5 separate regions of the Homo sapiens genome follow, and all the other regions are linked to region 1. The links are contacts of gene promoters, found by promoter capture Hi-C in blood cells and fetal thymus (Javierre and others, 2016). All regions are on one chromosome and are shown on one strand. The core of a region is centred on a gene start or on the middle of the fragment in contact, and the rest is flanking DNA. Distances in the headings are between cores, read along the strand shown.

Evidence for each region. Contacts are between HindIII fragments. The CHiCAGO score rates a contact against its expected background, and 5 or more counts as called.
Region 2: a contact is called between a fragment that was not itself captured here and the fragment with the promoter of ETS1 in region 1, in 6 of 17 cell types (activated CD4 T cells, non-activated CD4 T cells, total CD4 T cells and 3 more). The highest score is 12.9, in activated CD4 T cells.
Region 3: a fragment that was not itself captured here is called in contact with the fragment with the promoter of ETS1 in region 1 in 7 of 17 cell types (naive CD8 T cells, naive CD4 T cells, total CD8 T cells and 4 more); the score reaches 14.9 in naive CD8 T cells.
Region 4: a contact is called between a fragment that was not itself captured here and the fragment with the promoter of ETS1 in region 1, in 8 of 17 cell types (activated CD4 T cells, non-activated CD4 T cells, naive CD8 T cells and 5 more). The highest score is 15.7, in activated CD4 T cells.
Region 5: a fragment that was not itself captured here is called in contact with the fragment with the promoter of ETS1 in region 1 in 3 of 17 cell types (total CD8 T cells, naive CD8 T cells and naive CD4 T cells); the score reaches 7.5 in total CD8 T cells.

What each region holds. Positions count from the first base shown.
Region 1 is chr11:128,584,451-128,589,139 of GRCh38, forward strand. ETS1 (ETS proto-oncogene 1, transcription factor) reads right to left here and starts at 3,108. Exons shown (of 10, transcript NM_001143820.2): 1 at 3,038-3,108. It overlaps LOC105369565 (a long non-coding RNA gene), which reads left to right. Exons shown (of 5, transcript XR_948163.3): 4 at 1,890-2,510; 5 at 4,571-4,689. RefSeq lists a silencer at 3,061-3,267. The HindIII fragment of the contact is 9,036 bases long and covers 1-4,456 here.
Region 2 is chr11:128,063,916-128,068,912 of GRCh38, forward strand. No RefSeq gene overlaps it. Among named protein-coding and RNA genes, the nearest start is that of LINC02725, 29 kb to the right of the region's middle. The HindIII fragment of the contact is 5,563 bases long and covers 1-4,388 here.
Region 3 is chr11:128,020,866-128,025,639 of GRCh38, forward strand. No RefSeq gene overlaps it. Among named protein-coding and RNA genes, the nearest start is that of LINC02725, 73 kb to the right of the region's middle. The HindIII fragment of the contact is 357 bases long and covers 3,031-3,387 here.
Region 4 is chr11:128,044,862-128,049,923 of GRCh38, forward strand. No RefSeq gene overlaps it. Among named protein-coding and RNA genes, the nearest start is that of LINC02725, 48 kb to the right of the region's middle. The HindIII fragment of the contact is 4,575 bases long and covers 60-4,634 here.
Region 5 is chr11:128,002,854-128,007,771 of GRCh38, forward strand. No RefSeq gene overlaps it. Among named protein-coding and RNA genes, the nearest start is that of LINC02725, 90 kb to the right of the region's middle. The HindIII fragment of the contact is 528 bases long and covers 1,865-2,392 here.

The DNA of each region.
Region 1 (4,689 bases), core at 1,858-4,357:
GGTAAATGGGGATGACGAGAGTGGAGTGCCCACCTCAAAACTTCATTGTAGATTAAATGAAGCAGTCCCTGCAAAGCACCTAGCAAGGATGTTGGAACATACCAAGTGCTCAGTAAACGTTAGGGCTGAGTATTCCTCCTTAGGTGAAATGAAGAAGAATGGATATGATAACTAGAAAATCATCTACATTAAAAGGTGGAGTTCAATAAGCTATACTTTCAGTACAGCAGGGATAAAGGAGATGAGGAAGCAAAAAGTAAGTTATGTCTTCACATCTAATTTTTCCCAGGATTGAAGAAACTTAAAAGATTTGCCTGAAATGCCACTAAATTGCTGCATACCACATTAATTTTGCTCAAATGCTAAATACTTTATCATTTCCATAATGAAGAAAGAAAGGGAGGAAAGGGAAGGAGGAGGGAAGAGGGAGAGAGAGAAGAAGAAGAAAGGAGGGGAGAGAAAAGAAAGAAAGAGGAAGAAAAAAGAGAAAAGAAAGAAAGAAAGAAAGAAAGAAAGAAAGAAAGAAAGAAAGAAAGAAAGGAAGGAAGGAAGGAAAGAAAGGAAAGAAAGAAGAAAGAAAGAAAAGAAAGAAAGAAAGAAAGAAAGAAAGAAAGAAAGAAAGAAAGAGAAAGAAAGAAAGGAAAGAAAGAAAGGAAGGAAGGAAGGAAAGAAAGAAGAAAGAAAGAAAAGAAAGAAAGAAAGAAAGAAAGAAAGAAAGAGAAAGAAAGAAAGAAAGAAGGAAGGAAAGAAAGAAAGAAAGAAAGAAAGAAAGAAAGAAAGAAAGAAAGAAAGAAAAAGAAAGGAGGGAGGGAGGAAAGAAAGAAGGAAAAGAAAAGAAAGATAGAAAGGGAGGGAAGGGAGGGAAGAAGGAAGGAAGGAAGCAAGGAAGGAAGGAAGCAAGGAAGGAAGGAAGGGTCCCAGCTCGTGGGACGTAATCATTCCCTTCTGCTGTTTGATGTGAACAGTTGGGAATTTTGAACTGGTAATTAGAAAATGATAGTCACTATGGAAAACAGATCTATTCACCAATAATTAAAATCACAAGGTACATCAGAACCTCAGTTATCAGTAAGAAATTCACCAGTGCAATCAAAGAGAGAAATCTGTTGATTATTTGTTTGCAGTGTTTTGCCTTCTGCCTCACCCTCCCCTAGGTGAGAGGACCTGCACCCACACACCCAGTTTGTTGAAGTATTACTTCAGACAGTCCTTGACCTCACTGGCACTCTGATTTTTCATAGCCCTATGCTGTTTACTTCTATTCTCTCATATTTGTAAACCAGGCGGGGCGCAAATGATTGCTCACCTTTTAGAGATGAAGGGAAGAAGGCACAGACACGTTCAATCCCTGTTCTCTGTTACAAAGCTAATCACTGACATAATCCAAGTGCACAGCCACTTTCCCTTCTCCGACCCAGCGCTGGTTCAAGTTCTGACCCCACTTGCCTTTGAACTCCATTATCGTCCGGGACCGGCCACTGGCCCAAGTCGGTGCTCTGGCCACAGACTGCCAGATGCCAAAGGATCCCACCCCTCTACCAGCTTCCCCCAGGCTCTGCCTCAGGACATCCTTTCACAGCCAGCAACTAGCACCTCCGTGTAAGGAGCCTGCCGGGCAAAGATGCCCCCTCCATAATTAGGCTCTCGGCTTGGCTTCCCACATCCTCAGCAGCGGAACCAGGACGGAAGAGGCTGCATGGATGCCTGAACTGTTTGTTATTTCACTATTGAGTTGGCAAGGATGGAAGTAGTTGATTTACAATTAGAAGCAGCATGCTTCTTCAAATATTAATATTAATAACTGCACTACTGAACACATGAAAAGACCTTTTCATCTTCAAAGCACTTTGCAGACATTAACCCATTAGCTCTCCCTTCCCTCCATTCAGGAACAACAGGTGAGCAAGACTCTCAACAGCAGCAGTGGCCACCCTGCAGCCCTTGTGCACAGCCCACGGCCCCTGAAGAAAAAGCGTTTTCTCTTTGGATAAAAATAGGCCACCAAACCCAAAACCACAACTGATGAAAGAGTTATAGTATCAGTAATTTTACAAATCAAATGGAGCTGATGGAGTTATCATTTTAGAATTGGTATTTCCTGCTGTTTAACAAATACTTTTTTCTCAGTTGCATGGCAGTGGTCTAAAGTAAGAAGGAAAATGGACTTGAGATTAAAAACAAAAACTTACCCAAAAGGTGATAAAGAAATCCTGCAATAGAATGCATTGATTTCAGTGACCCAGCACCCTTTTAAGTTTGCCTGAAGAAAATACTACTTTAAAAGTTGGTAACAGAGACCTTTAACGGTGGGTGAGGAGTCACATACAAAGTGTCACGGCCAGATAAAATCACCGGATGCAGAGGAATTGCCATCGACATCTCCTGCCACTGAGTCCAGCTCTACCGTGGGGACAAGAAATACCTCCCTAACTCTGAGACAACCGCGGCCCACACCCACACCATGTCTCAACAACAGACTTAGGAACTTGTAGATCTTTGGACAACTGCAGGTCAGTCCCAAGACAGAGAAAAACACCAAACAGGCTAGTTTGGCTAGCAAGATTCAAACCTGTAGCAATTTCCTCTCTATTAAAAGCAATTCATTAAACTACTAGCAGGAGAAAAAAGTAAAACAATAGATTTACTAGGAGTGAAAGAGAATAAAAAGAAATTTATATATTTAACTACAGCTTTATTTCTTTGGAAGTGCTCCAATTTGCAAAAAAAAAAAAAAAAAATCAGGGTTTCTGACAAGTAATCTACGGGTATCTAAAACGTGCATGGTTTTACTTTTGTGAAGCAGGGAACATTTTTAAAAACATAGTCTTGCTTTCAGACTATTCTGACGAGGTTAGGAAGTATTTTTGAAAATTGTTAAACAATTAAATGGGAATATAGAAAGACGTGAAAAGAGAAAGAGAAAACTCACTTGTATCCTGAATCTCCCTACCGACTTACTCTTTAATTCCACAGAAATTTTTTTAAAGCAGGAAAAGGAAAATGGACTGAAAAGTTTTAGGCAGAAACTGACACACACCTCACTTACTACTTTGCCGGAGAGCAGATCCTGAGTGAGCTTCCCTCAAAGTCTGTGGTCTCTTTCCAACTACCTGCGGGAATCCTCTGCTCCGTAGCTTAAGAGGATGCAAAGACCATAATGTTTCTAATAGAGCTGCCTCCTTAAATTGGGGGGTGTGGTCAAGCCAGGGAAAGCTGGAAAAAAGGCAGTCTTCCTCTTGCCCCTGGCACCAGGACAGCAGCCACTGGCACAGGCACAGCAGTCTAGGTGGAAAGCACTGTTGATTGACAGTGGTGGCACCAAATCACACATTATTTCGTATTCTTCAAATTGTGCTTCAGCTGAATATAACTCAGCCTTGGAGAGTAACAGGGAGGGAGATGAGCAAAAGGGAACTAGTTCAGTGGGATAACACTGTATCTCACCTCATCATTTGCTGATGCATTTACTCTCTGCTGAATATGTAAATATTCATGCTTCATGTTCCTTGACTTTCTCAATGGAGCCCCCATTAACCTAGGCAAGGTCTCAGGTGAGGGAAAGGGATTGCTTTAGAAACACAGGACGTCCACCACCCAGTCACCTGCTCAGGCTTCCCGTTTCTCTCTAATAACTTGATATGAAATGTGATATTTTCTAAAGAAAAGAAAATAATTTTGTGGAAGAGAGCTGACTGGATATGGACTTGGGATTTCTGAAAAGTAAAGCTAAAAATCCCCTTTTCATATAAGTCTGGTTTTAGGCAATCTCTAAAATAAGGATACTTTTAGCAGCCCTGACTCATGGTCCGTGGTGCAGGAATAAAAGGGCAGAAGTGTTCATACATTTCTCATTTAGGGAAAATGTAAACAATATGAAAATCTTACATCTGTCCTAAGTGAAAATACACAGCATCTTTTATTCACATATTCAGGACTATGGTAAGAATGTTACAGCATAATCTCATTTCTATGAATGGAGTTATTACAATTTTTTTTGAGAAGTCAGTATTTGGCTGCTTAATCTAAGACTTTTATCCTAAAAGATTCCATCTTCTTTGAGTAGGAGGTGGGAGTTAAGATTTGTCATAGTTGGCTTCTTTCTCTTTTTAATAAAGATACAAACTTAGAAAATCCTTGAAAATCTAATAACTGTCATTTGGAGCCATATCATCATCAGCCTTCATTGTATAAAGCTGGCAATGCAGTTAAGATGACATTGTAAGTAAAGCAAGATTTTACTGCTCATCTTCTGCCTTTGCACATTAACTTGGAAGTAAGGAAGAGGTAATGCTATTGGTTCACTTTAGTTTAATAAATTGCCTGTGCCAGGCACTGTTCTAGGCACTAGAAAGATAGCAAGTTTGCATTGTAGTGAGGAGACAGACACATAAATCAACGATCTCCCCCCAAAAATGTAATACATGCTACAAAAGAAGTCTATGAAGAGAGCTAGGGAAGCTTCAGCCTGCCCCTGTAACCCAGTCAATTTCAGCACACTGCCCCATTTAAAGAGCCCACGGTCAATTATACCAATCATAACTAATTACAACTGTATTCACTATGTTTGCAGGATAATTGAAAAAAACAAAGTTGAGAAGACTTGGATTCTTGCTCTATAAGGGTGTACAGTGTGGCTGTCAAGGGGTTCTGAAGTCTGGAGTTGTCTATGCTGAGTTTATATAGAAAGCA
Region 2 (4,997 bases), core at 357-2,856, 520 kb before region 1:
ATTGAGAAGGAGGGACTCTCCCTAACTTATTCTATAAGGCCAGATACCAAAATCTGGCAGAGACACAACATAAAAAAGAAAATGTCAAGCCAATATCCTTGATGAACATCGATGCAAAAATCCTCTACAATATACTACCAAACTGAATCCAGCAGCACATGAAAAAACTACTCCACCATGATCGAGTTGGTTTTATCCCTGGAATCCAAGGTTGGTTCAACATAAGCAAATCAATAAATGTGATTTGTCACATTAACAGAACTAAAGACAAAAACTACATGATTATCTCAACAGATGCAGAAAAGGCTTTTGATAAAATTCAATATCCTTTCATGTTAAAAACTTTCAATAAACTGGGTATTGAAGGAACACACATCAAAATAATAAGAGCCGCCTATGACAAACCCATAGCCAACATCATTCTGAATGGGAAAAAACTTGAAGTATTCCCCTCGAAAACCAGAACAAGATAAGGCTGCTCACTCTCACCACTCGTATTCAACATAGTATTGGAAGTCCTGGCCAGAGCAATTAGGCAAAAGGAAGAAATAAAGGGCATCCAAATAGGAAGAGAGAAAGTCAAACTAACCCTGTTTGAAGATGACATGATTCTATATCTACAAAACCCCATAGTGTTGATCCAAAAACTCCTTAAGCTGATAAACAACTTAATAAGCAAAGTCTCAGGATACAAAAATCAATGTACAAAAATCAGTAGCATTTCTATACACCAACAATGTCCAAGCTGAAAGCCAAATCAAGAACACAATCACATAAACTATAGCCACAAAGAGAATAAAATATCTAGGAATATAACTAAACAAGGAGGTGAAAGATCTCTACAATGGGAACTAAGAAAGTCCTAAAATAAATGACATAAACAAATGGGAAAATATTTTATGCTGATGGATAGGAAGACTCAATATATTTAAAATGGCCATACTGCCCAAAGCAATTTATAAATTTAATACTATCCTTATCAAACTACCAGTGGCATTCTTCACTGAATTAGAAAAACAATATTTTAAAATTCATATGGAACCAAAAAAGAGCCTACATAGCCAAGGCACTTCTAAGCAAAAAGAACAAATCTGGAGGCATCACATTATCTGATTTCAAACTATTCTACATGGCTACAGTAACCAAAACAGCAAGGTACTGGTACGAAAACAGACATATAGACCAATGGAACAGAATAGAGAGCCCAGAAATAAGGCTGCACATCTACAACCATCCAATCTTCAGCAAAGATGACAAAAGCAAGCAATGGGGAAAGGCTTCCTATTTAATAAATGGTGCTGGGATAACTGGCTAGCCATATTCAGAAGACTGAAATTTGACCCCTTCTTTACACCATATACAAACATAAACAAGATGAATTAAAGACTTAAATATAAAACTCAAAGCTATAAAAACCTTGGAAGACAACCTAGACAATACCATTCTAGACATAGAAACTGGCAAAGATTTCACGATACAGGTGCCAAAAGCAATTACAACAAAAGCAAAATTGGCAGAGGGGCTCTAATTAAACGAAAGAGCTTCCACACAGCAAAAGAAGAGTAAACAGACAACCTACAGAATGGAAGAAACATTTTTCAAACTATGCATCCAACAAAGATCTAACATTCAGCATCTATAACGAACTTAAACAAATTTACAAGGAAACAACCCCATTAAAAAGTTGGCAAAAGACATGAACAGAAAGTTTTCAAAAGAAGATATACATGTGGCCAAGCAACATATGAAAAAGAGCTCAACATCACTGATCATTAGAGAAATGCAAACCAAAACCAAAATGAAATAATATCTCACACCAGTCAGAATGGCTGTTATTAAAAAGTCAAAAAGTAACAGATGCTAGGGAGGTTGTAGAAAAAAAAAATGCTTATACACTGTTAGTGGGGGTGTAAATTAGTTCAACCATTGAGGAAAGCAGTGTGGTGATTCCTCAAAGAGCTAAAAAGCAGATCTACCATTCAACCCAGCAATCACATAACTGGGTATATGCCCAAAGGAATATAAATTATTCTACCATAAAGACACATGCATGCATATGTTCATTGCAACACTGTTCACAATAGCAAAGACATGGAATTAACCTAAATGCCTATCAATGGTAGATTGGATAAAGAAAATGTGCCATATATACACCATGGAACACTATGCAGTCATAAAAAATAACAAAATTGTGCCCTCTGCAGGAACATGGATGGAGCTAGAGGCCATTACCCTTAGCAAACTAATGCAGGAACAGAAAACCAAATACCATATGTACTCCCTTGTAAGTGAGAACTAAATGATAAGAACTCATGGACACATACAGGGGAAAAACAGACACCGGAACCTACCTGAGAGTGGAGGGTGGGAGGAGGGGGAAGATCAAGAAAAATAACTAATTGGTACTAGTCTTAATACCCGGGTGATGAAAAAATATATACATTAAACCTCCATGATATGGGTTTACCTATACAACAAACCTGCATATGTACCCTTAAACTTAAAATAAAAGGTTTTAAAAAAGACTGTTAGAATTGATTGTAAAATTTCTCAGTTATGTTTTGTAAAAAAGACAGAAAGAGGAAGAAGAATTTTTATATCAGTGGTTACACTTATCCCACAAAATTTTAGTTAACAGTTAAATAACCTAATCAACTGGCTTCAAACTGACATACACAGCTGTTCATCAGATGCCTGTGGAGCTTCAAATGAAAACAAACAAAACGGAATAACCTCAAAAGCAAGATCTTGCTTACACTGTGGATGGAGATGTGAAATGATACAGAGAATTTGGGAAACAATTTGGCAGTTTCTTACACAGTTAAACACACACTTATCATATAACCCAGCCATTGCACTCCTGTATCATGCAAGAGAAATTAAATCGTATGTCTACACGTATTCTTATTCATGAATGTTCCAGAAACTTTATTTATAATAGCCAAAGCCTGGAAATAACCCCAGTGTCAAACTGGTGAATGCATAAACAATTTGCAATATATGCATACAGTGAAATGCTATTGAGAAACATAAAGAAATAAAATCCTGATACATGCAACATGGATAAATATTTTTTAAAATCCTAAATTAAAGAAAGCAGACACAATGTACTGTATGTTGTATGATTTTATTTTTATGAAATTTGTAGCAAACACAAAACTAGAAGGGTGGGAGCATACAAGTATTTGAGTCAGGAGTAAGGACATTAATTAACTGCAAGTGAACACAGGTAACTCTTTTGAGGTGATGCAAATATTATAAAATCAGGTTATGGGATGTATTAGCCCATTTTCATGCTGCTGATAAAGACATACCTGAGACTGTGCAACTTACAAAAGAAAGAGGTTTAATTGGACTTACAGTTCCATGTGGCTGGGGAAGCTCACGATCATGGCAGAAGGTGAAATGCTCGTCTCACATGGCAGCAGACAACAGAAGAGAGCTTGTGCAGGAAAACTCCCCCTTATATAACCATCAGATCTCATGAGACTTATTCACTATCATGAGAACAGCCCAGGAAAGACCTGACCCCATGATTCAATTACCTCCCACCAGGTACCTCCCACAACACGTGGGAATTCAAGATGAGATTTGAGTGGGGACACGGCCAAACCATATCATTCTGCCCCTGGCCCCTCCCAAATCTCATGTCCTCACATTTCAAAACCAATCGTGACTTCCCAACAGTCCCCAAAAATCTTAACTCATTTCAGCATGAACTCAAAAGTCCACAATCTAAAGTCTCTTCCAAGACAAGGCAAGTCCCTTCTGCCTATGAGCCTGCAAAATCAAAAGCAAGTTAGTTACTTCCTAGATACAATGGAAGTACAGGCATTGGGTAAATACACCCACGCCAAATGGGAGAAATTGGCCAAAACAAAGGGGTTACAGGCCCTATGCAAGTCTGAAACCCAGCAGGGCAGTCAAATCTTAAAGCTCCAAAATTATCTCCTTCAACTCCATGTCTCACATCCAGGTCACACTGATATAAGAGGTAGGCTCCCAGGGCCTTGGGCAGCTCTGCCCCTGTGGCTTTGCAGGATATAACCCCCCTCCTTGCTGCTTTCACAAGCTGGTGCTGCATGTCTGTGGCTTTCCAGGCATATGGTGCAAGCTGTCACTGGATCTACCGTTCTGGGGTCTGGAGTACAGTGGCCCTCTTCTCACAGCTCCCCTAGGCAGTGCCCCAGTAGGGAATCTGTGAGGAGGCTCCAATCCCACATTTCCCTTCCACACTGCCCTAGCACAGGTTTTCCATGAGAACACCACCCCTGCAGCAAACTTGCCTGGGCTTCCAGGCATTTCCATACATGCTCTGAAACCTAGGCAAAGGTTCCTAAACCCCAATTATTGACTTCTGCACACTCACAGGCTCAACACCATGTGGAAGCTTCCTAGGCTTGGGGCTTGCACCCTGTGAAGCCACAATCCAAGCTCTACATTGGGCCATTTCAGCCATAGCTAGAGTGGCTGGGACACAGGGCACCAAGACTCTGGGCTGCACACAGCACAGGGACTCTGGGCCTGGCCCATGAAGCCATTTTCTCTGAGGCCTCTGGGCCTATGATGGGAGGGGCTGCTGTAAAGACCTCTGACATGCCCTGGAGACACTTTCCCCATTGTCTTGGTGATTAACATTCGGCTTCTCGTCACTTAAGGAAATTTCTGCAACTGGCTTGAATTTATCCTCATAAGATGGGGTTTTCTTTTCTATCACATTGTCAGGATGCAATTTTTTGAACTTTTATGCTCTGCTTCCCTTATAAAACGGAAGGTCTTTAACAGCACCCAAGTCACCTCTTGAGTTCTTTGTTGTTTCGAAATTTCTTCCACCAGATACTCTAAATCATCTCTCTCAAGTTCAAAGTTCCACAAATCTCTAGAGCAGGAGAAAAATGCCAACAGTCTCTTTGCTAAAACATAAGTCACCTTTGCTCCAGTTCCCAACAAGTTCCTCATCTCCATCTGAGACAACCTCAGCCTAGATTTCATTGTCC
Region 3 (4,774 bases), core at 1,959-4,458, 560 kb before region 1:
CTTGCTCTCTATTCTTGGGCAGATCATCTTTCCCTGACACATTGTTCCTACCTGTAAATTGAAGATAATAATCCATGGCCCTTTGTTATCACAGTAAGTGGAAAATGAGATCCTGTAGGTGAAGGACGTTGAAGTCACAAAGAGAAAGGAGCTCTTCTATGAAACTTCCAGAGGGTAGTGGCAGCATCAACTGACATTTATGGGCGCTAACTCTGCACAGGGCACCATTGCTTATCCTGTACACTGCATTAACTAAAACTAAAAATTGTCCCTGTCTAGGGAAAGTTTGCCCTTCAAAAATCTTAGCTGCAGAGGTTACATAAATACATTCATAGAAGAAAAAACATAAGGAGGAGGGGAAAGATTTTTTTTAAAGCCCATATCTCTATGTTTAACTGACATGAGATTTTTATTTATTTTTACTACTTAAATTTTTTGAGCCTACACCGCAGGAATAAGCAGAGTCTATTAAAGAGTCTGATGCTGCAAATGATCTTACAGAAGATCACTAGAATTTATGATCAGCTCTGCCCTTGCAACCTGCCTTCCCTGCAGCAGCAGGCGAGGAAGGCAGAGAGGCTGAGAGGTCATTGGCTGACATCAGCAGGTACAAAGTATGCCATCCTTCCAGGTTTGGAGACGTGGAAGTAAACACGGATTGTGCCAGGAGCAAGCTTTGACCTGACTGTGGGGTTGCGGGTGGGGGCATGTGTGTCTGCTGGGCAGCAGGAGAAGAAGTTTCTCTCTGTACTGGGGCTGTGAAAGGCTGGGCTGCCCTCACACTGCAGGTGTCGGGGGCTCAGGAGCCTCTTCTTATCTTTTGTGTGACTGCAACTATTTTCCCAAGAAAATTAAAGTGACTTAGTCAGTTAACCTGAAATTCCCAGCAGCAGATTAGAAGTTTTGTCATCAGACTTTGGTGGCTGAGAGAGCAGAAAGTGCTGAGTGTGACAGAGGTGGGATTCCACTACCACCTAGTGGGCAGCAAGGGGCCACCTCTTTGCCCCTCATGGCTCCAAGGAACATCAAGGGAACTGGGAGGGAAACAGTCAAAAAGGAAGTTAATATAAGTTCTAGGTAGAATTAGACCATCTTGTAGTGCTTCCATCAGCCACCTGATGGGGTGCATTCTGAGCACCCCATCAGGTGTTGATAGTAGGTTGGAGAGCTGCTACCCTCCCTCAGAATTTGGTTCCTGGGCCCTGGAATGACAGGATGCACCCAGCCTGCTTCGGGGCAGTCGACTGGCCAAAGAGAGGCATTGGACCTGATTCGAGGAAACCTATTCTCATATTTGAAGCCAGGGGCTTATTCATCCACTGCAAAATCAGTTCACTGCTGTCAAAGACTATAGCTGAGTCATTTCTAGTTTCCTCCCTGCTGCCTGCCTTATGCACTGAGCATGTTGCTCTTGAAACACATTTTTTTGACAGTAGATGCAGTGCTCACAGTTTTATATGTGAAAGGAAGTGATGTTTATTATGATCACAATGAGACTAAAATGTGAGGATCACTGCCCACAAGCAGTTCATATTCTAGAGGAGCTGGGAGACACAAACAAGTAGTTGCAGAAAAATCTAACAGTGTGTAATGGTTAATTTTATGTGTCAGCTTGGCTAGGCTATGGTATCATTTTTGGTTAAACACCAGTCTAAATATTGCTGTAAATGTATTATTTAGATATTATTAACATTTAAATTAGTAGCTTTTGAGTGAGGCAGGTGATCCTTCATAATGTGAATGTGCCTTGTCCAACCAGTTGTAGGCCTTAAGAGAAAAGACCTCAAAAGGTCTTTTGAGTAGAAGGAATTGTGCCTCCAGACTGCATTTAGATTCAAGGTACAACATTAACTCTTTCCAGGGTCTCCAGCCTGCAGGCCTGTCCTTCAGAATTCAGCCTTGCCAGCCCCTACAATTGCATGAGAGAATTCCTTAAAATAAATCTCTCAATACATAGATGATTGATAGATAGATAGATGACAGATATAGACAGATGATAGATAGGTGATAGATGTAGAGAAAGATAAATGATAGTGATAGATAGATGATTGATAGGTGACAAATATAGACAGATGATAGATATTATAGGCATATGATTGATAAATAGATGACAGATATAGATGGATGATAGATAGATAGATGACAGATATAGACAGATGATAGATAGGGGATAGATATAGAGAAAGATAAATGATAGATAGTGATAGATAGAAGATTGATAGGTGACAAATATAGAGAGATGATAGATATTATAGGTAGATGATTGATAAATAGATGACAGATATAGAGGATGATAGATGATAGATCGATGATAGATAGATAGAGGATGTGTATATAGATCCATAGATCTCTACAGCTATGCACATTCCATTGGTTATGATTCTCTGGAGGACCCTGACTAATACAGATTCATAATGGAGAGCATTTCAAAGCATTCTAGCATCACAGAGAAGAGATTTATTCTGCCTGAGGGATCAGGATGAATTTACATCAGCGGTAGCACTTAGGATACTCTTTCAAGGACAGACAAATTGAAGTTCCACAGATGAGGAAGGAAAATAATTTTTTTCAGGCAAAGGGAATAAGCAGATATGATCTGATCAGAGACACTATGCAAACAGAGTGACCTTCAATAACTCTAGTCTATGGTGCCTGGGATGGCACATGCTGAATGAAAGCTGAGATAGAATGAGACAAAGTTACTGAGGACCTGTTGTAAAGGACCTTGATTGCTCAAGGTTTGTCCTTCCTCAGAGACACTAAGATCTCTGATGTCCTAGGCATGAATGCATAGTGTGAAATGAAGTCAAGAAGTGACAAGTTTGATTTCCTTAGAAGGCTGCTTGGGATAGACAGGTAAACATTAAAAGGCTGCTACAATTTTTATTTCAAATTCTAATAAGAATTATCTGTAGGTGTGAAGACTAGCAGTGGGTCACAGAGCACCCCAGAGACAAAGAAATAGAAACAGTCTTCTCTCTGCTATCCTCTGATATCTTCATAAGAGTGAGTACAGCAGGATGGTTGAGAAGCTTGGTTCTGCCATCAAACTGCACTAAGTCGGTATCTCTCCACTACTGGTTAAGTCACCTTGAACAAATTATTCTCTAAACCCCAGTTTCTTCACTTATAAACCAGATCTAATAATAGTACTTGCTTCATATGGCTGTTGAGAGGATTAAATGAGATCAGACATGGGGGTGCTTGGCCCAGCACTGAGCACCTTGTAAAAGCTCACTAAGCATTATTTTTTAATGCAAAAAGGATACTAGAGAAAGATGCTAGCACTGTTTAACATAAGCATGGACATTTTTTTAAAGATTAGTTTCTAATACCATCCTAACCCTTTTGTCAAGTGGGCTTGCTGGTATATTGATCAGAAACATAAGCTTCTGTTCTTCAAAGATGGCCCATTAGGGTTACAATTGTGTTCTTGTTTTATCAAAGGGAAGAAGGAAAGACACTACTAATGCTAATGGTGTCAACTAATAATTTTGGGTACAGAGAAGTCTAGAGAACACATTGCTTATGTACGTATCACTTTCTGGTGTTTACCTTACAATCAGATCCTTAGGGCTCCCAATGGGCCACTGTGAAACTAAAGGGCAGTCAGGATATCTCATTCTAATGTCATGTTTGAAAGGAAGATGCATGCCATACAATCTTCACCATCTTATACTGCCTGCCTTTTTCCTAAGAGCTCTAAATTTCTGCTGTGGGTCAAGGCTGGGAGGTGGTGTGATCAGATGGCTAAATGATTAAGAAGTAGCCTCATGAAGAGCCCGAGGCAGCCTGGCCCTCATTAATATATTCTGTTCAAGCCCCCTAGGGCAAGAATGACAACTGGAAATTATACTTGTCATCTTCCTAGAAGTTGGCATTAGTAAAGTATTTTCTCCTACAGGGTTAATGCTGGTTGAATATTCCTGGGGCATCTACAGATAGGCACTGTATGATCAGTGGAGATATTTTAAACCACCACAAATTTGCACAGGTGTAAATACGATGATTCAAATAAGTGGACACACATTTACACATACGTACACCCACACTTAAATACCACACCACATCCCCAAGTGTCGTATGACATCTAAGGCTTCCCTGTCTATCATCTGTAAGAGGAGTCCACAGATGAACCTATCTCAGGTGAGACTCTCCTGAGCTCAACACTTAGCTCTCTCTGAGTCCCTGGTCTCCCCATAAAGAAGAAGTTTTAAGAGGGTTGTGAAGCCATTTGACTGCCAGGAAACTCACAGCCAGATTTTGTGCTCAACTGCAGCAGCTATCCTAGGATTAGAATTTAGGTAAGATTATCACTCTCCTTTTCTATTTCTCTGCTCTTAGCTTTTTCCGGAGGAATGCATATTATACTCCTATACCTAATTTATAACCATAGAAGTTATCCTCAAAGGCCTTCATGGCCATAAATCTCATGAATCCTGTCCCATCCCAGAGTCATAGAGTGGATCCTATTTCTTCTAATGGCATCCCTAGTCCCTAAATACCTAACTAGGTGAAGGTTTAATTTTGAAACACACTGGTTCTCCAATGAAACAAATGCATGTAGGTCTGGGGGTTGTTTCTCTTACTTATAGATGGCTCAGACTATGACAAGGGCTTCATTCACCCAGTAGTTAAGGGAGGAAAGAACTGGAGACTAAAGACTGAAGGCAGACAGGATACTAGAGGGCTGGACCAGGGTCCTAGCCCATACATGATGCACACTGGGGTTCCCACCCAGCTCACTCTAGGACTCAATTTCCGCTTCTCTAGT
Region 4 (5,062 bases), core at 1,097-3,596, 540 kb before region 1:
TGACCACATATCTCCCTGACTTTTGATTTTACATTAATAGGCTCTGGAAGATTTAAACAAGCTTGGGAAAGTCTGCATTTATATTTCATTCCCAACCAGTTAGTTATCAGATCTAGCTATATGGATCTGCACTTACATTTTGGAGATTCCACATAGAAAGGAGAAAATCCATGTAGACATGGAGAATGGACACATTAATTAATTGAAAAGGGGAACATGAGGAAGGGCAATGATACAAATTTCATTAGTTCAGGTTCACTAAGAAGCAGATTCCAAATTGAGATTAGATGTGTGAGACATTTATTGACGGAGGGATCAGGAGAAGGTAGGGAGAGCCTTCAGAGGCTAACACCTATGAAAAGTCCTACCTCCCACAGGACTGAGCCTGCCCTAGTACCCAATGCAGTCAGTCATTGGTTGAGAGTAGCAGGAAGAAACACAGTAGGAGGTCCATATGGGGTGGTGAGTAAATTAGGCTCTCCACAGCAGGAAATCTGAACTTCACAACCTCTTTGCCAACCACACAAGCCAAAATCTAGTCAAACAATTTTAAGACACAAATTTACAAATTTGTTAATTGAGTAATGACCCATCGTTTGCCATTATCCAAGCATAATAATTTATTGTTTTAAAGTGAATTTCCCTCTGTTTATTATGATAATTCGTGCTAGGAATGTGCTACACACCACAGATGTGAAGTTGAGTTTTGGAAATATCCTGATTTGGAGATGGAAAATGTGGGCCGTTTGTTCCACATGGTTGTGTAACTTACTTAACCTCTTCTTCTCAGCTTCCCTGTCTGCAAATTGCTGCAGCTATTTTATTAGAGCATTTTTCTAAAGGCTAAAATAGTCTATGTAAAAATTATTGGGAAGTACTATGAAAATTACTGTTAGCAGGGACTGAGACTGAGGCAATGTTTTCATGTAATGTAAGTTCTTAGGAAAGCAGAGACTCTTATTTCATTTAATCCATGGTTATCTTTTAGAACAGAAATAAATTAGAGCCTGGCTAATAAAATTTCTATTAGAAATTTCATTTTCCAAACATTAAATAGCTTTTTAGCCTAAATTTTTTATCATAAACTCAAAAGCTAGTTCATGTCTTTCCTGTGTATTTTTTGTCATGATAGAGCAGCTGCCTATTAAAAGTTATCATTATGCATTTTTCATTCCATATATCTCATTCTTACATTTTTGTATGTATATGCTTGTTATGATTTATTTTACTAAAGACAAATAATAATATTCTATAACATGTATTGATGACTTATTATGTAGCAGAAACTATGTTAACAGGGAATCTAACTACATTTGTTGTCTTCTATATCCTAAGACCATAATGACGATCTCTGAAACAGTACTAATTTTCCAATTACTCTTATCTTTAACTGGAAAAACACAATGAAAATTGCAGAACTCCTTTGGGGAGAGTTATGTTGTGCAATAAATAAAGTTATTGTAGTTTCATAAATCTTGGACACCACTAAGCCAGAGGGAAAAGTGTTGTATTTGGAAGTTCCTTTTATTAGTACTTGATGCTATATACACTGGGTGCCGTACAAGACAAAAATAACCAGTGATGCGATAATGAAACAGACAAAAGGTCAAATAATTGAAAATCCAGTATAAGCTAGACATGATGGCTAATACGTAGAGTTTCCTGCAGAAACACAAGGAATGGACAAATCTTTCCTTTTCTGATTTAATTTTTTCCTACTTTGCCTGATTACTTTAGTACATTAAATACTAGGATCTGACAGGCTTTGCTGGAAGAAAGGTCAATCTCCAGGATGATATTTAAGAGAATTTAAACAGATTTTTGCCTGTTCACTTAATAACTGGGTAACTTTACATAAATTGCTTAAGCTCTCTAAGCCCCGGTTTCCTTATTTAAAAAAATGAGACTAAGAATATGTAATAGGGTAATTATGAGTATTACACAAGGAAATATATTTAAAGTAGTTTCCATTGTGCTTAATCCAAGTAAACATACAATAATTATAGAGTTATTATTTTAAAAGATACTATTTATCGACTTCTCATTATAATGCTAGTTTTGTGAACTTTTCTTCCTTTTATTGAAGTTCCCAATATTCCTCATAAGTTATGCAATCCCTAAGTTGGTAGAGCTTTCCATCAGAACTTTGCTTTTAGAAATATAAATATCTAGTACTTAGTTAGTAAGGCATCTAGGGATAGTCCTGGTTAACTGTTGCCTTTGGCATTCTAATAATACACGTTTTTTACTCCATTTCTCCTAAAACCCAGTTTTACAGCTGGAAATACAGTATCAACGTCTCTGTTAATGCCACTTTGTAGTTGACTCACAAGTCAGAAAAACAAAAGCCAAGTTAACAATGACATTTTGTTTGTGAAAGAAGGTTACATAGATAAGCAAGAGTTACTCATACTGAACAAAAATGAATTGCTCAGTTTATTCCACTGTTCAAAATAATCGAATCACCAAAGTTAAGTGAAGAATGACTTGAGCAGCCGTTGTAAAATACAAACTCTTCTTCAGCTTCTGGGAACTTCAGAACCAGCTCCCATATCTAGTTCTCTATGGAATAGACAGGTGCTTTACCTCTACATGTACTCCCTGACCTCAACCATCTACTAATACCACAGAAAGAAATAGTACACTAATTAAAGAAACACAATTCTTAATAACATAAAGCAAAACAAACGAAAAAAACACAAACAAAATCAACTAATAAACATCAACGCTTTCTCAGCACAACACTGAACATTAGCTAAGAATGATAACACACCAAATTCAGTATAATGAAACTGAACTGGAGTCCATGTAGCTCTTCAACTGCATCTATGATAATATTTAACTTATGTAATATATTGCTACTATTATTAATAATAAAAATAATTCTGAAAGAAATATGGTAAAATGTTGAAATTTAATCAATTATGCTGATTATGTTATTTACTTTTCATTATACTTAAAATATTTCATGACTTTTTTAATGATGAAAAAGGTTAAGGTAAACGATGTGTCATGTGGCACCGTGGAAACTGGAAGACATGCATTAGAATTCTGGTTCTACCACTGAATGGATCATACTCTTGTCAACCCTTAGTTTCTACCTATAAAATCTCTACCTATAAAAAAAGAAAGCCATAAAATTGTTCTACTATTTTTTACCTGCCTCATAAGGTATTTTATAAGTATAAAACAAAGCTGATGTTAGAAAATACTTAGCACAGTGCCTAACACAGAAAATTCTACTAAATATTATTTTTGCCTGAAAAATCATTTTAATAATAGTTTTTATGATGCATAGAATAGATTCTACACAAAGCAAGAAGACTGGTGTTGCCAGTGGGTTTCTAACATGCCTTGTGAGAATGAGCTACTAGAGGAGTGTCCTTACAGCAACATTCGCTGACCAAGAAAAGTGGAGAAATAGACTAGACTGGATTTATGGTCAGAGTGGTGGAGTTAATGAATAATAGTACCTATTTTAGTCATGCTTCAGTAAAGGCTACATTAAATTTCCCAGACACAAAATTGACAGAAGTACTTGGAGGAAGAACAGATTCCTGTTAAAACAAGAACAAGGCCAGGTGCGGTGGCTCATGCCTGTAATCCCAGCATTTTGGGAGGCTGAGGTGGGCAGATCACCTGAGGTCGGGAGTTCGAGACCAGATTGACCAACATGGAGAAACCCCATCTCTACTAAAAATACAAAATTAGCCAGGCATGGTGGCGCATGCCTGTAATCCCAGCTACTTGGGAGGCTGAGGCAGGAGAATCACTTGAACCCGGGAGACGGAGGTTGCAATGAGCTGAGATCGCACCACTGCACACCAGTCTAGGCAACAAGAGCAAAACTGCTTCTAAATAAATAAATAAATAAATAAATAAAAGAACAAATTTAAACTATGCTAAGAAAAATGAAGACTGCCCATTCTCACTTCCAAAAATTTCAGAGAAAAATGAACACTTGAAAGAGAGAGGTGGGGGGCTTTCAAGGGAAAGTATAAAGCCACCATCTTTGGGGAAGTAAATAGATATTTCCAGCTGTGGAATCATTTAATGGAGTTCTTAAATAGGAAAAAAAAAAAAAAGCAGAAATTTGAGCAGAAATAGCAAAATCAAAGACCAAAAAGAAGAAATACGCAAAGGCAGGATCAAAGTGATGAGCAATGAAGAGTTTAAGCAAGAATCAAAGCTCCAATCCCAGCCTTCTGAGTGTGAGCAGGATGGGAAAGGGAAGTAGCCATGGGCTTTCAAGACACGGCAGCCACGGGCAGGTGACACTGAGGAAAATGGCACAGACAGCTTGTGCAGGAATCCTCTAAGAGACGGGGTGGCAGGGATAGAGGTAAGGAACGGCTCAACACAGTGTGACTATTCAAAAATGAAAAACAAAATAAAGGAGCAGCCACCATGACCGTTTACAAAGTAAGCCACAAGGTGGAATTCCTGGAGAAGAGAAACATCCAGGGTGAGCCCCTTTCACTGCAGAGTCCACTCTGTTATAGGGTGACTGGGTTTACCTCTGGCTGCTAATAGCAAATGGGAGAAAGTTGAAAAAGTTAGAAGAAAGGAAGAAAGGAGGCATTAGGAACATTTTTTGAGAGAAACAGAAGGACAAGATTGTAAATTGAAGACTAAGCTTGCCATGAAGTCTGACAAGAAGAACAGGAATGATAAACAATGCAGCCAGGGTATACAAGAGCAAAGAGATGGTGATTGGTTTTCTGTGAACTTCAAGGAAAATGGAAAATAGGCCCAAAGGAAAAAATCAAAGGTTGCTCATCCACAAAGATCTGATTGATCAAACAATTATTTTCTGTCTAAGACAATGCATAACTCTTTTGTGCCATAGAGGCTTCTGAAATACAGGAAGGTGTTGTAAACCAGGAGACCTCCATGAGCGAAGCTTCAGTGAAAAAATACCAGAGGGATTGATGAGTAACACTTCATGTAGAGCCATCTCTATGGGTTTGAAGCTTTCCTATTAGAATTTACCTGTCAGATTCTGAAGAAGAGGGAAGTAAAGAAGCTAAAGAGATAAATGGTGTGCAGGCTGAACACAATC
Region 5 (4,918 bases), core at 879-3,378, 580 kb before region 1:
GTCAATTCTATTTGTTTTTTTGTGGGATTTTTTTTTTGCTTCAAATATTTTAATGCTCTGTTTTTAAATACAAACATCGTAAAACTTTTAAGTTCATCTTCTTGGATAATTGACCCTTTATAAGTATAAAATGCCTCTCATTCTTGATAGTTTTTCTAGTTATGAAGTTGGCTTCATCTGAAATTAATATAACTATTCCAGATTTCTTTTGATTAGCGTTATCATTATGTGATTTTCTCCATCTCTTCACTTTTAACCTTAGTCTTTATATTGTCCATATGCTGTAATCTTCCAGTAAATTCTTACTAGTATCACTTTAAACAAACAATTGTCTTCAAATAAATTTAGAATAAGAAACATAAACTAATTTATTTTACCTTCATTTATTCTTTCTCTGAAAATCTTGCTTTCTTTATGTAGATCTGAGTTTTCATTCTGGGTTTCATTTTTATTCTCCCTGGAGAACTTTTTTATTTTTAACATTTATTGCAGGGAAAGTCTGCTAACAATAAATTTCTACAGTTTTTTTGTTTTTTATCTTTGTAAGTCTTTATTTCTTTGTCACTTTTGAAGAATCATTTTCTAGGTATAGTATTCTATGCTGGCATTTTTTTCCTTTCAACACATTGAAGATTTCATGTTACTCTTATTGCTAGTATAGTTTCTGCTGAGAATCTCTCTGTATTTCCTTGTTCCTCTACAGGTAGGGAGTGTTTTCCAACCCCATCTTTCCACCCTTACTCCTGGTTTCCTTCAAGATGTTTTTCTGCCTTTGACTTTCTGCAGTTTCAAATGATATTCCTGGAGTTATGTGGTGGGTTTTTTGGCTATTTTTTTTTTCTTCTTGATGTTCTCTGAGCTTCCTAAACCTGTGGTTTATTGTTAGCAATTAAGCTTGGAAATTTTTCAGACATTGTTTAAGTTATTTCCCCTGCTTTATTGTTCTTTCTTTCTTGTCCTTCTGGTTTTCTAAATACCTGTATGTTAAAAATAAATACCTGTATGTTAGTTATATCTTTTGACATTTTCTCACAGTTGTTTAATACCATTTTTTTTCATTATGTTTTCCCTTTGCAAATCAGTTTGGGAAGTTGTATTGACCTATCTTCAAGGTCACTGATTTTCTTTCCTCAGCTTTGTCCAGTCTACTAATGAGCCCATCAAAGACATTGTTCTTTATGTTATAGTGTGTCTGACTTTTAACATTAATTTTTAAATTCTTTTTTGGCATATTCATGTCTCTGCTTACAAAACACATCTTTTCTTGCATATTGTCTACTTTTTCCATTATAGCTCTTAATATATTAATTATAGTTATCTTAAATATCCAATGTGATAATTCTGACTCTTTGTTGTATCTGAGTCTGGTTCTGATGCTTGCTTTATCTCTCAGACTTTGTTTCTTCTTGCCTTCAGACATGCTTTGTATTTGTTTTTCTTTTTTGTTGTTAAAAACTAGGCATGTCTGAGATACTGAGAATTACTGAGAATTGAGATAACTGGCCCCTGAGTGATGATTTATGGTAATAGGGCTAAACGTAAGGCTGTGCTTAATATTTGCTGTAGTTATATGTACCACAGGCTTCAAATTCTTCTAATGCTCTGGTTTTTGGTTTCCCCATGAACTCCTGCTGAGAGAGAGCCTGTATATGGCATTCACTGCAGGATTCAGCTTTTTAGGAACCTACACAAAGAAAGATGGTCTCGTGGTCAAAGTATATGAATTAGAAGCAACTTAACTGAACAAACCACTTGGTCCTGAAAATTTAAATCTTTGCTTTCTTTTCTCAATATCAAGCTATAGGAAGAAGCGGATTTAACTCTGATACTTTCACTTATATCCTCACTCCTAGGACCTTATAAAAGCTTATTCTGATAATGAGTGAAGAAAGGAGGATACAGAGATATACAAAGGCAGAATTATTTAAAAGTGTCCCTGGCAAAGAAAAATAGAAAGATAATTCACTGAAAGTTTGTAACTTTCTTTACAAAGGATGTCCCCAATTAATACCAATAATATAGCAGAAGGTATCAGGAGTTCATGACACATTGTATTAGAAATAAACAGTAAACTAGGAATCAGGCCCCTTCATTCATATGTTCATTCACTCAATAAATATTTACCCAGTGCTTTCTATCTGTCAGGCATTGTGCGAGGTGGTACTACTAACACATCCTGTGACATTGTGCCAATCATTTTATCTTCCTGACTTTCAGTTTTTATAAAAGCAAAACCAAGAGAATTATATCTGCCCACAGTGCTTATTGTGAAGTTCAAATGAGACAGTAACTGTGGATATACTTTGAAAAGTGCATAACAACATTGAGTTTTATTTATATAATGTTTACATATATTGTATTTATAAAAAGGCTGTTTGAACTAAATTTCAGAAGCTTCACAAGGATTGTAATTTTTCATTGGTTTTACTTATTTCACTTTTTTTCATAGTACCGCCTTCCAAGTTTTTTTACATTAGCTTTATAGGAAAATGCTCAGTTTTACTGGCTCTGTTTTGAGATTCATCCTCTCAGAACTCTTGCCTTGATTTTTACAAAAGTAGATTTCTTACTAGGGACTAACATTTTAGGAAGGCAAAATTTACTCCCAATTTGTGGTTCAAATGGAAAAGTTGAGCCCAAGAAAGTGACTGAGTCAGTCAAGGGCAGGGCTCAGAAGAAGTGACGATACACTTCACTCCCTGCAGCCACCAAAAGTCCAGACCCTTTAAGTCTACAATTAATAGCAGCAACATCAGGTCTTAGATCATACTTTTTCTACTTACCAGAGCTATCTGTAGAGGCTACTGAGCTGTGGCCATCATCTCCTCTCATGGCATCCTTTGGTTTACTGTGAAGGCATTATGCAGAAAGGGTGATTTATTTGTGTCTACTTTCCTCACATGGAAAAAACTCCAGCCAGAATTCCGAGCCTAATTTCCATCCATTATGCTTACTGGAGCAGTATGCTGTGCTGTTCAGAGCAGATAAAAACTGGAGACTCTGCATTTTAAACTCACCAAATGATTGAGAAATAAATTTAGTTCTAAGCACAGCCAATGAATAGCTGCAAGGTGTGTTGGTTTATCATAACAGATACGTCAACTTTATCCTCCAGAATCCCAGCATTATCACAATGAGTTTCCTCAGCAGAAGCTGAATGGAGTATTGCACAGAGAATTTAACTTTAAGAAAAAACATTGGTCCAATGTCTAGGAGCCTATTAACATATTCTGCTGTCTTTTCATTACAGTTTCCCTTATTGCAGTAGAACCCCAGAATAGTATGTTTCTAAATGTCATTAAAAAATTAACGAAGGGAGGCAAGATGGCTGATTGGAAGCAGCTGCAGTCCACGGCACTCACGAGGAGGAATGAAAAGGGGCAAATGATTTCAGCACTTTCAACTGAAATATCCAGATTCTTGCATTGGGACTGACTAGGCAAACAAATTGACCCACAGAGAACAAAGAAAGGCAGGGAGTGGGGGTGGGGCAACAGCCCATCCAGAAGCAATACGGAGCCAAAGGAACCTTCCCCCCACAGCCAAGGGAAGCGGTGAGTGATTGTGCGATCTCATCTGGGGAACCATGCTTCTCTCATGGATCTTTGCAACCTGCAAATCAGGAGATCTCCTTCCGAGCCCATGCCACCAGGGCTTTGGGTCCAATACACAAAGCTATATGGAGTTTCAGCAGAGCAGCTGCTCACTAACTCCAGTCCCAGGATCTGGCAAAGTGGAAAATTCATCTGTACATATTCCTAGGAAGAGGGCTGAATCCAGGGAGCCGAACAGCACCCCTCTGCAGGCCCCACTTCCATGGCACCTCACAACTTAATACCCACTGACTTGGAACCCCAGCCAGCCAATGGCAGCAGGCTGGAGTCCACCTGAGATGGGAGTGAGTTCCTTGGGGGAGGAGTGGACCCCATCTCTATGGTTCAATAGAAGCAGCCATTCCAGCTTGCCAGCTGTGGAGAATACAGGTGGTCTGGTTGAGGAGGGACCACAAACAATGCAGTACAGCTGCCTTGTCAGATCATAGTCAGACTGCTTCTTGAAGCAGGGCCTCAACCCATTTCTCCTCACTGGGTGGGACCTTGGTTCCACAGATAGAGCTCTGATCTCTCCTTGGGATGATGCTATTGTGGGAAGGGGTGGCTGTCATCTCTGTAGTTTTATAGATTTAGCAATTCCAGCCTGCCAGCTGTGGAAAATACAGGTGGTCTGAATGAGGAAGGATGCCCCCCAGCACAGCATTACTGCTCTACCAAGAAGCAACCAGACTGATTTTTTGGGCAGGTCTCTGATCTCATTCCTCCTGACTGGATGAGATCTCCCGGCAGTGGTCCCCAGCCACCTCTTACAGGTGTGCACAGGCCAGCAACACATCAGTGCCTCCCTGAGACAGAGCTTCTAGGGGAAGGAGGTGGCTGCAATATTTGCTGTTTACTGTCCTTCACTGGTGATACCTCCACGTATGGGAGAAACCAAGGCAACTGGGGTCTGTAGTGGACCCCCAGCAAACCACAGGAATCCTACAGTTGAGTGGCCTGACTGTTAAAAGAAAAACAAACAAGCAAAACAACAACATAAAAAAAAAATCCCACAGAAGCCCCATTCAAAGGTCAGCAACCTCAAATATCAAAGGTAGATAAGCCCACAAAGATGAGAAATAACCAATGCAAAAATGCTGAAAACTCAAAAACCAGGGTGCGTTTTCTCCTCCAAATTACCACAACACTTCTACAGCAAGTGCACAGAACTAGGCTGAGGCTGAAATGGCTAAATTGACAGAAGTAGGCTTCAGAAGGTGGGTAATAATAAATTTCACTGAGCTAAAGGAGCATGTTCTAACTCAATAAAAAATTTAAGAATCAAGGCAAAACCAAACAGGAGCTAATAACCAGAATAGCCAGTT